Linked DNA regions of Homo sapiens: regions 1 and 3 are each linked to region 2. Evidence: promoter capture Hi-C in 16 types of primary human blood cells and fetal thymus (Javierre and others, 2016). All regions are on one chromosome and are shown on one strand. Each heading gives the region's core, a stretch centred on a gene start or on the middle of the fragment in contact. The rest is flanking DNA. Distances are from core to core; before and after follow the strand shown.

What was found. The method cuts DNA at HindIII sites, captures the fragments that hold promoters and counts their contacts. A CHiCAGO score of 5 or more calls a contact.
Region 1: a contact is called between the fragment with the promoter of OR9A2 here and the fragment with the promoter of EPHA1-AS1 in region 2, in 1 of 17 cell types (neutrophils). The highest score is 5.0, in neutrophils.
Region 3: a fragment that was not itself captured here is called in contact with the fragment with the promoter of EPHA1-AS1 in region 2 in 1 of 17 cell types (neutrophils); the score reaches 5.5 in neutrophils.

Annotation. Positions count from the first base shown.
Region 1 is chr7:143,025,272-143,029,736 of GRCh38, forward strand. It overlaps OR9A2 (olfactory receptor family 9 subfamily A member 2), which reads right to left and starts at 1,861. Exons shown (of 1, transcript NM_001001658.1): 1 at 929-1,861. The coding sequence starts at 1,861. The coding sequence ends at 929. It overlaps LOC105375544 (a long non-coding RNA gene), which reads right to left. Exons shown (of 2, transcript XR_001745395.1): 2 at 3,989-4,465. The HindIII fragment of the contact is 3,416 bases long and covers 243-3,658 here.
Region 2 is chr7:143,405,949-143,410,319 of GRCh38, forward strand. EPHA1-AS1 (EPHA1 antisense RNA 1) reads left to right here and starts at 1,865. Exons shown (of 5, transcript NR_033897.1): 1 at 1,865-1,938. EPHA1 (EPH receptor A1) reads right to left here and starts at 2,908. Exons shown (of 18, transcript NM_005232.5): 1 at 2,776-2,908; 2 at 1,663-1,730. The coding sequence starts at 2,857. RefSeq lists an enhancer at 2,980-3,592. The HindIII fragment of the contact is 7,900 bases long and covers 1,156-4,371 here.
Region 3 is chr7:142,913,343-142,917,399 of GRCh38, forward strand. TRPV5 (transient receptor potential cation channel subfamily V member 5) reads right to left here. Exons shown (of 15, transcript NM_019841.7): 9 at 2,140-2,226; 10 at 1,965-2,041; 11 at 1,539-1,704; 12 at 1,298-1,364. Among named protein-coding and RNA genes, the nearest start is that of TRPV5, 18 kb to the right of the region's middle. The HindIII fragment of the contact is 1,279 bases long and covers 1,519-2,797 here.

The sequences.
Region 1 (4,465 bases), core at 611-3,110, 380 kb before region 2:
TTTTAAAAAATTCTGCCCACAGAGAAGATACACATGATGGTACTGAGACTGTTGGATTTGAGAGACGGAGAATCAAAAGACATTATAAAGTTTGAAGTCTAGATCTGGATACAGTCTGAACAGACATAGTTGTGTTTAACAGCCATAAAATACAGGATGCTCTCTAGAATTAGTCATTTAGTTCTTATTTGCCCCTGTCCCTATACTCACCACAAAGAAGGGCAGTGAAAGGAATATGCTGAAGCTTAACAAAAATAAATTTTCCTCCATTTTTATCCTCAAATATTTTTATCTTCTTTACACCACAAATATCTCCTGAATGAGAAGCATTCCAATCCTCATATCGCCATTCTAGACTGGTTCTGTGACAAAACGTAAACAGTGTTACACTTCCTTTCCAGTATCAATGGGGCAGAGAGAAAGAGCTTTAGGATATCTAAAATGCATATGGCCATCTTGCCAAAAAATTGCACAAAAATATAGGGAAGAACTTAGCAACAGGTGATGAAGGACCAAAGTGAGCATCTCTACCTTTCTACTCTGATTAGGACACCTTTCTCAGTACACCTCCCTCCACACTTCCTCCCTTCCCCAGAAAATACATTTTCAGAGATGGACTATGAGGAAATGAGTTGGGCTAATAGAATTCTTACAAAAATGTCTGCATTTCCTTTCTCTAGTCCCCCCCAAATCACAAGAATATGTTCAACAGTGGAAACAGGCAGGAACTAAGGCTATGAGAGTCTCCTGGACAGACAATGGATTTCATTATTACCAGCCTAATCTACTTCCATGGTGTGATGGCGAATTGTACACACTCTTTGACTTTTGTAATGAGAGGATAAGAGAAAAGAGGAGTTAGAATTTTCTAGGTGACTTAATAATTAACCCTGAGGCTTGGACCACCTAAAACTGACTTACAGAACAGCTAATCTTTCAGGAGTTGACAGCAGCGTTTCATCCCATCTCGGAGGGCCTCTTTGACTTTGTCATTCCGAAGAGTAAAGATGAAAGGATTCAGGAAGGGGGTTAACACAGAAACCAACAGGGAAACTATCTTATTGTACTCAACTCCCTGTGTTTGCTTGGGTTTCACGTAGAGAAACAAGCAGCTGCCATAGCCAATCACAACACAGGTGAAGTGGGAGGCAAAAGTGGAGAAGGCTTTCCTCCGGCCAGAGGCTGACGGGATCTTGAGGATGGTGGAGATAATGTAGGTGTAGGAGACAATCGTAGGGATCAAAGAACCAATGAGAATAAAAACAGCCATTAAGAAAAGGATAAACTCTGTGAGAAGAGTGTTATCGCAGGACAGTTTGAGCAATTGCCCTCGGTCACAGTAAAAATGGTCTAATGAATTTGATTTGCGGAAGGTAAACTGAAATGTGGCATAGATGGGCCAGATTTCAGAAAGAAATCCAAACACCCATGACACTATTACCACCCAAATACAGGTACTGCTGTTCATAATGATGTTGTACCTCAAAGGGTTACACACAGCCACATAACGGTCCACAGCCATCACTCCAAGTAATGCAAACTCCATGGTCCCACAGGAAAAGTTGAGCGATACATGTAGAGAAAGATACTGTCTGCATCCCAGGAAGAGCAATCCCCAAAGCATCATGGGGACAATTATGGTTGTGACCAGGATCTCCAGGGTAGAGAGGTGGCTGAGGAAGAAATACATGGGGGACTGCAGACGTTTATCCACACAGACAATCACAATGATGACCGTGTTTCCCATTAATGTCACTAAATAGAAGAAAAAGAATATAGCAAAAAGAATGTGGTGTAGTCCTTGGGACCCAGGGAAGCCTAGAAGGTGGAATTCAGTGGCACTAGAGTGGTTGTCCATCATTTAGTCCTTGATTCTGCTTGTTTTGAAGCCCAGAGATTAAAAGAGAGGTGGCATTGCTCCACATGGTCCTGCTCTCAAGAGAGAAGGAAGAAAAATTAGGTTAAGAAACTATTTCCAACCTGAGAATCAGGTGACATGTCCCTGCTACTGTGGTCGGCACATACATAGCTTGAGGTACATGTTGTCATCCCAAGTCTACAAGTGAGGCTCTCACTTCCCTGTGTAACCAGCCCCCTAGAATGGGTGAAGACATCTTCTTCTACTGGTGGTGAAATACCTTCCTTGCCTTTTTCCCCATTAAATATACCTTCTCTCGGGGGCAGAGGCTAAGACCTTTTAAATAGGCCAGTTTTAAAGGTGAGTCAATCAGGTCCCTCCGGTCCTGGAGTTACTTTCTCTTAGGTTAACTGTGCAAGATGACACAAAGGCATTTTATATGATGTTCAAAGGACAGAATTTTAAACCCCAGCTCTCATCTGTAATGGTAATGCATAGACCCACCTTTGGGGCCAGCAGAAAGGAGGCAGAGGATGTAAGACTAACATCTCTGCTGTTCCAGATTTTAAAATCTCCATTTTACAGAACAGCAAGATCTCTAAATGAGAACTCTAGAGCTTGGGATAATTTCCCAGAACAGATCCATTCTTCTCTAATTCCATTTTCCTTCCAAAGTTGTGGGAGGAAGGAAAGATGGCACCTGGCACAGAAAAGGAATAGATCTGGGACCGCCAGCTGTTAAGGATGCCTGGCTCTCTGCCTGTCGCTTCATTCCATTATTCAAATGTCACCCTTTCCAAAGACTCTTTCCAATCACTCTGCCCAAAACAGAAAAGACACACTTATTATTGGACTTCCATTTTTTTAATAACAGTTGTTATTACCTTGTATTATGTCTAATTATTTACTTCATTCCTTTATTTAACAATAAACAAATGTAGTCATGAACAGAACAAAGAAAATTCCATGCCCTGTGGAGCTTATATTCAAGGAAGAGGTGGGGGCTAGACCACACACAAGACACCTAAGTAAAATATGCAATAGTTTAGTTTGCTTATCATGTCACAGGGAAAAAAATAAGCAAGAAAGAAGGAGAGGAAATTTAAGTGTATTTATTATTTATCAACGGCATTAGAATATAAACTCCATGAGGGCTAGGACATGTCTTCACTGTTGTATTCTGAGGCTGGCACATAAAATGTACATACATAAATTAAGTAGTTATATATTTTATATATATATATCATATATCTTTTATATAGATATAGACAGATACATTATGTGAAATGAATATATCATAGATATATCTTATATATTAAATTATGTATTAATTTATCACAAGGTAACCGAACTAATAGCTGTGTGAGTCAAGATTTGAACCTAGGTCTGTCAGATTTCATCACTCACACAGCTAACTACCACACCTTATATTATATTATTATCTTATATTATTTATCTTATTTATATAAGATATATGAAATAAGATATATGAAATATATCTTATATTATATAAAATATACATATATTTTTTATTTATAAGATATTTAAATACATAAGATATATGTATCATATACATAAAATAAGTAGTGCTGACAAATTTTGCTAGATGAGGTATGGATGGATGGATGGATAATATATGATTAAATAATACTTGTTCTGGCCAGGGCCTGGGCCACATTCCCTCAATCCTATTCTGGTTGGTTTTCCTTCCTGCCTCACATTACCATTTTCCCTCCTGCCCTTCCCTTGCTTAGGTAACCCCTTCCCTGTCTACGTCACTGTTTTACTAATGGTTTAAAAAGCTTCAGGGACAGAATTGATGGGAAAGCTCAGTGTTCTGGTTTTCCACAACCTCTGCATAACCAGCACGAGATGAAGAAACATGAGCGAGAAGGACACCGACTGTCAGGGAGCCGTGACTGTGTTAGCATTGGGTCCAAGAGGAGCCGGAAGTGCTCTCTGCTATGCAGGAAGGGTCTGGAGATGAGCCTATACACTCTACTGCTCCCCTAGCCCACACTTCAATATCTGGGTGACTTTGTTCTAGAAGATAGGCAGGCCCAGGATGTCCCATCCTAAAATGCTTTTACCCTCTTCTTCATAGAGGAGACCCCTTGGAAAGACACTCACCTTTACAGAGGGGCTTCGCCGCCTCTTCTGATGTTCTCTAGGGCTCCGCTGAGGCTACCTCCTGTCCTGCTAGTGCTGAGCCATGCACAGGGGCCAGAACAAGTTGCTGCAATCCCCACTCATGGCGAAGAAGGGAAATGTCCTCCCAGAGGAGCTTAGGAAAAAGCCCAGAAATGAGTGTTGGGCAAAGTTGAGGGTCCTCTCTCTCTCCCCTCTCCTCCCTCTTCCCTTCTTCCCAAGGGTACTTAATCACCGAGTTACTACTTCTTAATTAGCCCACGTTCAGGGAGTCCCCAGGCAATCAGTCTAGTGGGAGCAGAACAAACTTTAAGTTATTCCCATTTTTTGACCAATTAAGTTTTAGAACTTTTGAAAGTTTTTGTTTGACGGGAAAACCTGAAATCTTACCAATCAGGGACTTCTTAATACTGGGGCTGCCTTCCTGAAAACCTCAGGTCTAGGTTTCCAGATGTCTCA
Region 2 (4,371 bases), core at 615-3,114:
TAGATGCTCCAGTAACTTAGGCAGCCCCCTAAGTGGTTCTGTGACCAGCTGTGCTGCTGGCAGAAAGGGTGCTGTGAATTGTAAAATATATATTTGGTCTTTGTCCACATTTCCTGGCAAACAACCCCTAAAGCCCTCAAAATCCCTGAAGTGACAAATGTCTTTTTATATGCTAGTGAGCTGACTGCCGGGGATGGGAACTAGACTGGGGTGGGGGAGGCCTGGGTGGCAGAAGGCAACCTTGTGATTGGAGTTGGGACTTTCGGCCCCACCCCCAACTTCCAGGGAAGGTAGAGAGGTTGAAGGTTGAGCTGATAACCAGTGGGCAATGATCTAATTAATCACGCCTATGTAATGAAGTCTCCATAAAAGCCCAGAAGGATGGGGTTGGGAGGGCTTCTGGATGGCCATACATGATTAGGTCCCTGCAGGGTGGCTCGCCTCCTTCACATATACCTTGCCCCATGCAGCTATTCCATCTGGTGTTCATGGTACCATTTGTAATAACCGTTATAGTAAGCCAGTAAATCCAAGTCAATGTTTCCCTGAGTTCTGTGAGCCATCCTAGCAAACTAATTGAACCCGAGGAGGAGGGTCAGGTAAACCTGATTACAGCCGATGGAACAGAAGTATAGGTGACAACATGTTACTTGTGATTGTTGTCTAGAGGAGGGCAGTCTTGTGGGGCTGAGCCCTCAACCTGAGGCTATCTCCAGGTAGATAGTGTAAGAACTGAATAAGATTAGAGGACACTCAGCTACTGTCCACTGAAGAATCTGCCAGAGAGAACTGACTGCAGGCGGGAGGAATCCCTACACGCATTTTGGTGACCACAGGTCACCGAAGTGATTTGTGTTGAGAGTGCAGTAGGAAAAAACTGAGTTTGGTTTTTTGTACATCATAAGAGCTGCTCTCTGCATTTGAGTCTGAATATGCTCTCTCAGACCCACCTCACAACCTGTTCACTGAGTCTTAGGAACATCCAAGGAAGGAAGGGAACTGGAACAAGCTCTGACACTTTCAAACAGCTGGAATGCATGGTGTGCACGCAGTCAGCCTGAGGAGGTGTGGAGGATGAGCTAAGGGCTCAGAAACCTTTAGGGGAGCAGCTTTTAACTTCGGAGGAGTCAAAGACCCTTTGAAGAATTTGATGAAAGCTTTGGCTGGTCTCTCCAGAAAAAAAAATGCCCGCTTACATATACAGAATTTAGAGTACACTTTCATGGGGTTTCCCCACCCCCTGAAACCTATCAATGCAACTTCATTGGGATGAATGGATCTCAGATTGAGGATGCTTTTCTGCCTTTTCTATCCCTCCCCAAGCAAAGCACTGGTCTCAGCCTTCAACCATCCCCAGCATGGTGCATTCTCTCCCCGGGTATGTGAGCTCCTCTCCCCCTCACAAGTATCAGCTTGTATTCACAATATTCCCAAGTATTCACTGGAGGAGCCAGGCCATTCAAGCGTTCATCTTGAGGTGAAGTCTGACCCCCCCACCCCTTGTCCCATTGAGGAGGCTCTGACTCAGCCTCCTCTCCCCCTCCCTGAGGAGACACTTCCAGTTTTTCCTGCTCTTTTCTCTGTTCCTCCACCCACCTCTCCACCCCATTTCCCACTGGCCTTCAGGAGTTTTCCAAGATCCTTCCCTCTTCCGACACTTACCCCATCTTTTGGGGGATCCAGCAGCCAGCCCAGCTCTCCCTGTGCCTTGCTTGTGTCCATCAGAGTAACTGAAAGTGGGGAGAAAAGAAGTCTGTCACCTCTGGGGGAGGAGGTGCCCCTGCAGCCCACATTAATCATTCTGGGGCCTCAGCCCCAGGCTGCAACATCCTGTTCCTAAAAGCTGTGACTTCCTGAGGCTTAGGGGAGAAAAAGGGCTCAGGACTGAGGAGTGAAGAGCTCCAGGGATTTCACTCTTCTTTGTGTGTGTGAAGGAAGGCAGGTAGAGTGGGACAAGGGTTGGGGCGCTGGGTCTTTGACCAAAGTCAATGCAAGAAGAGCAGCCCCACGAGACGCTCAGTTACCCAGGCTGCTGCGTCCTGGGACACCCATCAGCTGCAGGATTGGAACGCGTGGAGGGCAGGAGGAGCTCACCTCTGCTAGCCAGGAGTGGGCAGGGTGGACCGGGGACCTCAGAAGGGGTTTCCTGGGTAGGGAGGCTCACCTCCACTGTCCGAAGCCTGCTTTGGCCTGACCTGGCCAGTGATCAGAGCCGTGAAGTGGGGATAAGAGGCACAGCTACCTGCCTGGGAAGTGGGGGGGAGTAAGGCCGGAGAGGGTGTTCCAACTTTCACATGGAATATTCGACTCGGACAACTGGGAACCCCTGTGGCGTCAGTCCTAACCCTTCTCCCGGAGGCAGCTCCCTCTGTCCCTGGCCTAGGTTGGCAGGAGGCGACTTCCCACCTTCAACTTCCAAGGGCTCAGATCTCTGGGGTGGGCACCTGAAGCTGGGACTGTCTGGGAATGCAGGCAGGGGTGCGGGTGCAGGTGCTACTTCCTGGCAAGGGTCCGGAATTCCCTCCCCACTCCCAGGAGCAGATTGCTGGCCTGCGGGAGTGGGGGTGACTGACCCGGGAGAGCAGCCGCTTGGGGTTAAAGACCAAAGATGGGCCTGGCCAGTCGATAGCCTGGCGGTCGGGCACAGCGAGAGAGCTGGCGAGGGTCTCGGGGAACATGGCCCCTAGGAATGCCGGCTTCTGCAGGGGGGTGCTGGCCGGGCCCCGGGAAGGGGCGGGGCGCGGGGGTTGGGGGCGCGGGGGCGGGGGTCGGTACCTTCCTTGGCGCGCGCCCCCGGGGGCAGCGGGGCGCAGAGCAGCAGCACCAGCCCTAGCCCCAGGGGCCAGCGCCGCTCCATAGCTCCGGGCCGGGACCTGGGACAGTGGCCCGGATGGCAGCGCCAGGTTGCAAGGGACTAGGAGAGCCGGGCGGGCCGGGCGGGGGCGGGGGGCGGGGCCAGCGCCGGGGGCGGAGTCCCGGCCTCACCTGGTTCACCTCCTTAAAGGGACAGTAGGGCAGGAAAGAAACTTGCTAGACTGGTAATCAAATTCAAGAACCGGAGGCGTCTTGACCCGAATGAGACTGCGGGCGCCGCCTAGTAGGTGGGATTAAGAATTGACGAACCTTTTCCCAATTCTAATCCTAAACTCAACCCAATCTTGATCCAGCTTTTAACCTAATTCTACCTCTGACTTGAATTACACTCCTATATTCCTCTTTCTGTCTTTGTGCAGGCCCCAGAGCTGGGTAATAGGGCCGGGGAAGGCAAGGGGTAAGAGTCATATCTTCACCCTCTAGCAGGGGAGGCTTAGATGACCACAATGCAAGGTGGGGTACAACCTGCAGTGAAGCATCTGGAGATTAGAAGAGGAAGCAAGCCCAGTCATCGGGGCACATTAGTTGAGTCTTCAGGGAGAGCTGGTGTGACCTGGGTTTTCAGTGGCAGAGATTGGGAAAGGCACCAGCAAGGGCCTGAAGGCAGGGAGCCTCAAGGTGCGCCCAGGGAGTGGTGAATGGACCAGTTTGACTGCTGGGGCGCAGGATTTGTCTTGGGAATCAGGGCAGAAAGGCAGGTGTGGGCCAGGGCTGGGTAAACAAGAAAAGGAGTTTGAACCTTGACATGCACTTACACAGCAGACATGAATATCTGGTTAAGGTTCCAGCCACAGGTGGCAGGGAAGGATATTTTAACCCATCTTAGTGGTGTCAAACCACGTGCCCTCTCACTTTCTTGCGGACTTCCTTATATTCTTTTTCTTTTTTGAGATGGAGTCTCGCTCTGTGGCCCAGGCTGCAGTGCAGTGGTGCAATCTTGGCTCACTGCAACCTCCGCCTCCCTGGTTCAAACGATCCTCCTGCCTCAGCCTCCCGAGTAACTGGGATCACAAGCGTCAAGCGTGCACCACCACACCCAGCTAATTTTTCTATTTTTAGTAGAGACGGGGTTTCACCATGTTGGCCAGCCTGGTGTCGAACTCCTGACCTTAGGTGATCCCTCCTGATCTCAAGTGATCTCCCTGCCTCTGCCTCCCAAAGTCCTGGAATTACAGGCCTGAGTTACTGCGCTCTGCCGAGACTTTCTTATATTCTATTTAGTAAATGTTTGTTCAGTTTCTGCTATGCATGCAGGAAGCTCTAGAAGCACCTAAGAACAGAAGGACAATGTCTTGCCCTATATAAGCTATTAATTTGGGGATGCTGGGGGTTGAGACATAAATAATTGCACAAATGATTGAAATGGCGGGCAGGAGTGGACCCCAGGCAAGGTACACACAGGGATCACAGTAGCTCAAAGGGGAGTGATGCATTTACTAAAGAGGCTGGGGGTCCACTCCTGGCCCCTCCTTCTTTCGCTCCATCCCATCTGGGTAA
Region 3 (4,057 bases), core at 908-3,407, 490 kb before region 2:
CTTGAAAGCCTCCTCACTGCATAGGGAGCTGAAGCACATTCTGAGAGCAGAAACAGGGTCTATGACAAAGCATTGCCTCCTTATTTATTTAAGAGAAAAGCAAGTGCAATGGCCAAGAAGTGAACATTTAGAGAGTTCTGGATAGAGGACATCTACAGAAAGCCACTCTGGGACCATCACCTCATTTTGTAATCTGTGTTATGTATAGATGTAGATGGCCAGGGAGTGGGAGGAAAGGGTACATAAGGGCTTGGGGTGGAAAACTCCAAACAGGCAGAACGCCATGGTTTTACTCTTTCACATTTCAGATTTTGGTGGGGGTTTTGTTGTTGTTGTTTTGTTTTGTTTGTTTTTTGTTTTGGTCTGTTGTTTTGTGGGAATCCCCATTGAACGGGAAATCCCTGAGGACAGTAATAGAGTCCTCTGCACTGAGTCATTGCTTTTTAGAGATGGGGGGATCCTTCTAGTGCCTCTTCTTGTCTAATAGATGGTCAGTTGCAGACACTGAGGACTGAATTTGAGCTACTGGCCTTTTGCTTTTCAGACCTGGGCCTTCCTCTTTCTGCCCCTCCCTAAGGACTTTCTTCTGCTCCTCCACCCACCCTCTCCTTCCCTCTGGCTGTTTCCACCTGCCTGTGTTTTCCTGCTGTGCCGTTCCTTTCTTTTGCTCCCTGGCACTTTCACTGGCTGTGCCTTGACTGGGTGCCTGTGTGTTCCTGTTCTCCCAGTCTCTCTTCACAACTCTTCTTTTTTGTTTTCTCTGTCATCTTCAAACTGTCCAAGCTGTTTTTCTGCACCTCCTTTTTCTAATTCTTTCATATTTTTCTCAGCTTTAAATGACCACATATAGAAAAAAAGCAAGTTATATGTTGTTGAGTGCTTTAGGTTTCCTCTTCTGAATTGTAAACATAGGAGAGTTAAGCATGGCACTATCTCTGTTTGTCCACATGGTTTTCTGAGATCCATGACTGGCCAGTCTTTCCTGTTTAATGCCCTGTTCTCACCAAAAGTCTTTTCCTGTCTCTCCTTTAAAGATCTTGCAAGGCAGTTAGTGAACATAAATCTTATTGGCCCTGAACACATGGCTTTACGTTCCAGGCCAACCTGAGTGGCCCCTGGTCCTATAAATATGGGTGTGCTTTTAGACTTACCTTCCAACAGGAAAAAACAAAACAAAAAACAAACAAAAAAAAAGAAAGCAAAATGAAGTGCAAATGAGAACTGAGAGCAAGAATGAGAGTGAACTTTCTGGAGAACTAGATCTGCTGATCTAGTAGAGGAGTGTATGGTGCCTTACCGGAGGCAAATCCCAAGATGACCACAGCCATCAGCCAGCAGAAACGCATTAGGTCTCCAAAAATCATCTGCAGGAAACAGAAGGAAGAAAGGGTGGGATGATTCCTTTTCCACTGCTTTTGAGCAGCTAACGCTAACAGATCAAGAGGCCCCCATAGTTCTACCAGCTCCATTCTACCTCCATCCCTCTGTCTGTGAAGGTCTTGTGCCTGAGGCGGAGGAAGCTTCGGGAAAGCACTGACCTTCTGGATCATGATGGTGAAGGGACCCAGCATCTGGAATCCTCGAGTGAAATACATGACACTGCACCAGCCCAGCACCAGGGCAAAGGACATGGGCACCACCTCCCCATTGGTGTTGGTGAGCCGCATCACCATGGTCACCAGCACCAGGGAGGCATAGGTGATGCTGGGGGAGCAGAAAGCAGAGAGTGAGAGACAAGCTGGAACTATTTTAGGTCCCTACAGCATAGTGGTGACCGGGGTGGTATCCACACACTCAGGCTTAGTCTTTACACCTAAAACGCACATACAGTTACACCTACAAGTCCACTGGAGAGAAGTCCTTGGAGTGAGAGTGACCTGAGGCCTAGAACTCAGAGAGTGAGCTGGAGACAGGAAAAGATTCTGGTAAGGAAAGGCAGGGGGCTGGAATGAGGGGATACTCACATGATGACATGGAATGGCCCCCCAAGAATCGTCTTTCCAAAATAGCGAGAGGCACCAACCCTGAAGATGTCTGGAATCTGGGGAGAGGACGGCAAAGCAAAAATACAATGTGGACTGCGGTACAGTCTGGGCCTTAGATGGGATGGGATTAGCCTGGACCCCGCCTGCCCCTCACCTCTAGGAGCAGGATGATCACAGCCCCAACGATGCTCACCAGCTCCCCCACCAGCCTGATGATATCTTCACGTGTCTCATAGGCCTCCTATGTGGGGAAATTCAGAAGAAGTGCTTTCTGATGGGCAGAGTCAAATCCTTTTGTGCAAATGATCGAAAGCTGCTAAAGCCCATCCAAAATAAAGGAAACTCCCCTTCCCACCAGCATCACCCCACCCCCATTGTACTTGCCATTGTGGGTAACTCTGTGACCAGGACAGGAGTCTATGTATCCAAGGTTTAATAGACGTCACATATGCTAATGTCTTGAGCTACCATCTAGCAAAATCGCCTTTTCTATAGATGCTGTAAGCAGAAATTTATGATGTATATACTGAGCAGCTGAGAACACATTTCAGCGCATCAAGTGAGCTAACAGGAAGAGGTATTAGTGGCTTGGGATGGTTTCAGCTATGTGGAAAGTCCACCTTTTCCAACCTCATCATGGCTTCTAGTGGGAAGAATACACTGTAAACATATCACAGAATTCAGGTTCCCTCACGGATCCGGAATCTACTACCTCTAGTGAGACCTTGAACCATTCATGGAAAATCTCTGAACTTGAGTTTTCTCATCTGTAAAATGGAGGCTACAGTGCTTACCTCCCAGAGTCATTGTGAAGCTTACATTAATGATATATTTACATGAACTTTATAAATCATAAATCACTATAGATATATTCACTGTGGTTTTATGATGATTTGACATTACAGAAAAGAGCAGAGAAGGGGCTAGAGACACTATGAGGAAGGGTCCCTGCCTATCCTGAGCAGTAGTTGTAGAAGGTATAGTCCAAGGGTCAAGGTGGAATGAAGACCACCCTACTTCAATGCATGTTACTTCACGGTGAAACTTATGCAATATCACAGATGTAGTGCTAGAATCCTACATTAATTATCCTTATGTTTTTGAAGTTATGAGCTCACTTGAAAACATAATAAAAACTGTATATCTTCTTTCTACAAAACTGTGTTCCCATGTAGACAATTCCCACATGATATTGCACAAATAATTTCAACACATGCAAGCAGCCTTTTGACTTTTGGGAGCTCTGTTGTCCAAGGTCACATCTCCAAATAGTGCACCCAAGAAAGGAGTTGAGAGTCCCCTGGGGCCAGCAGGAAAGCTGATGATTTGAGCCAGGGAGAATGTGGTCCCTAGTTAGCATAAGGAACGGCAATTATCCCTGCTCTGCTAATCAGCTGGAACCTGTAAGCATCTCTCCAGACTCTACTGCAGCAGCACACTCACCTGCCCGGTGAGAGGCAGTGCTTTTAACACAGGGAACCAAGAGAGACTAGGAGAGAAGCTTCTGTCTGTGTGTCTGGAGAACTCTGTGGTCTAACAACCTGTGACCAGACATCAGTCAACACTTTTTTTTTTCTTTTTTGGCTTAAAAAATGGTATGCTCTGTAAACTTTTCTGACATTTATCTCTTGAGAAACTGGTAAATTTTATTTTATCATATAATAGCAAATTTCTTTTTTTACTTGCTTCCAAAGAATTTCAGAGTTTTTGTTTTGTTTTGTTCTATTTTTTTGTGTGTCTGGTTTTTTTTTGTGCGTTTTTTTTGTTTTGTTTTGTTTTGTTTTTTTGTCCTCAGCTCTAGCAGCTATCTTTGAATTCCTTCTCTTCTCTCCTGAAATTCAGTTCACGGACTGTGTTCTTTTTCTTTATCTTAATGTTTCTATAGCATCTGTCTTTTATTGTAAAACATGCCAACTCCTTCACAGAGTCAGGTAGTGAGTAGGAGGATAAATAACAAATACATTACTTCAGAAACAAAATAACATTAAATATAGAAATAACTGCATCTATGCCATATATGTGTCTATAAAAATATTTTTATTTTAAAAATGTCGTGTCTTGATTTAATATGT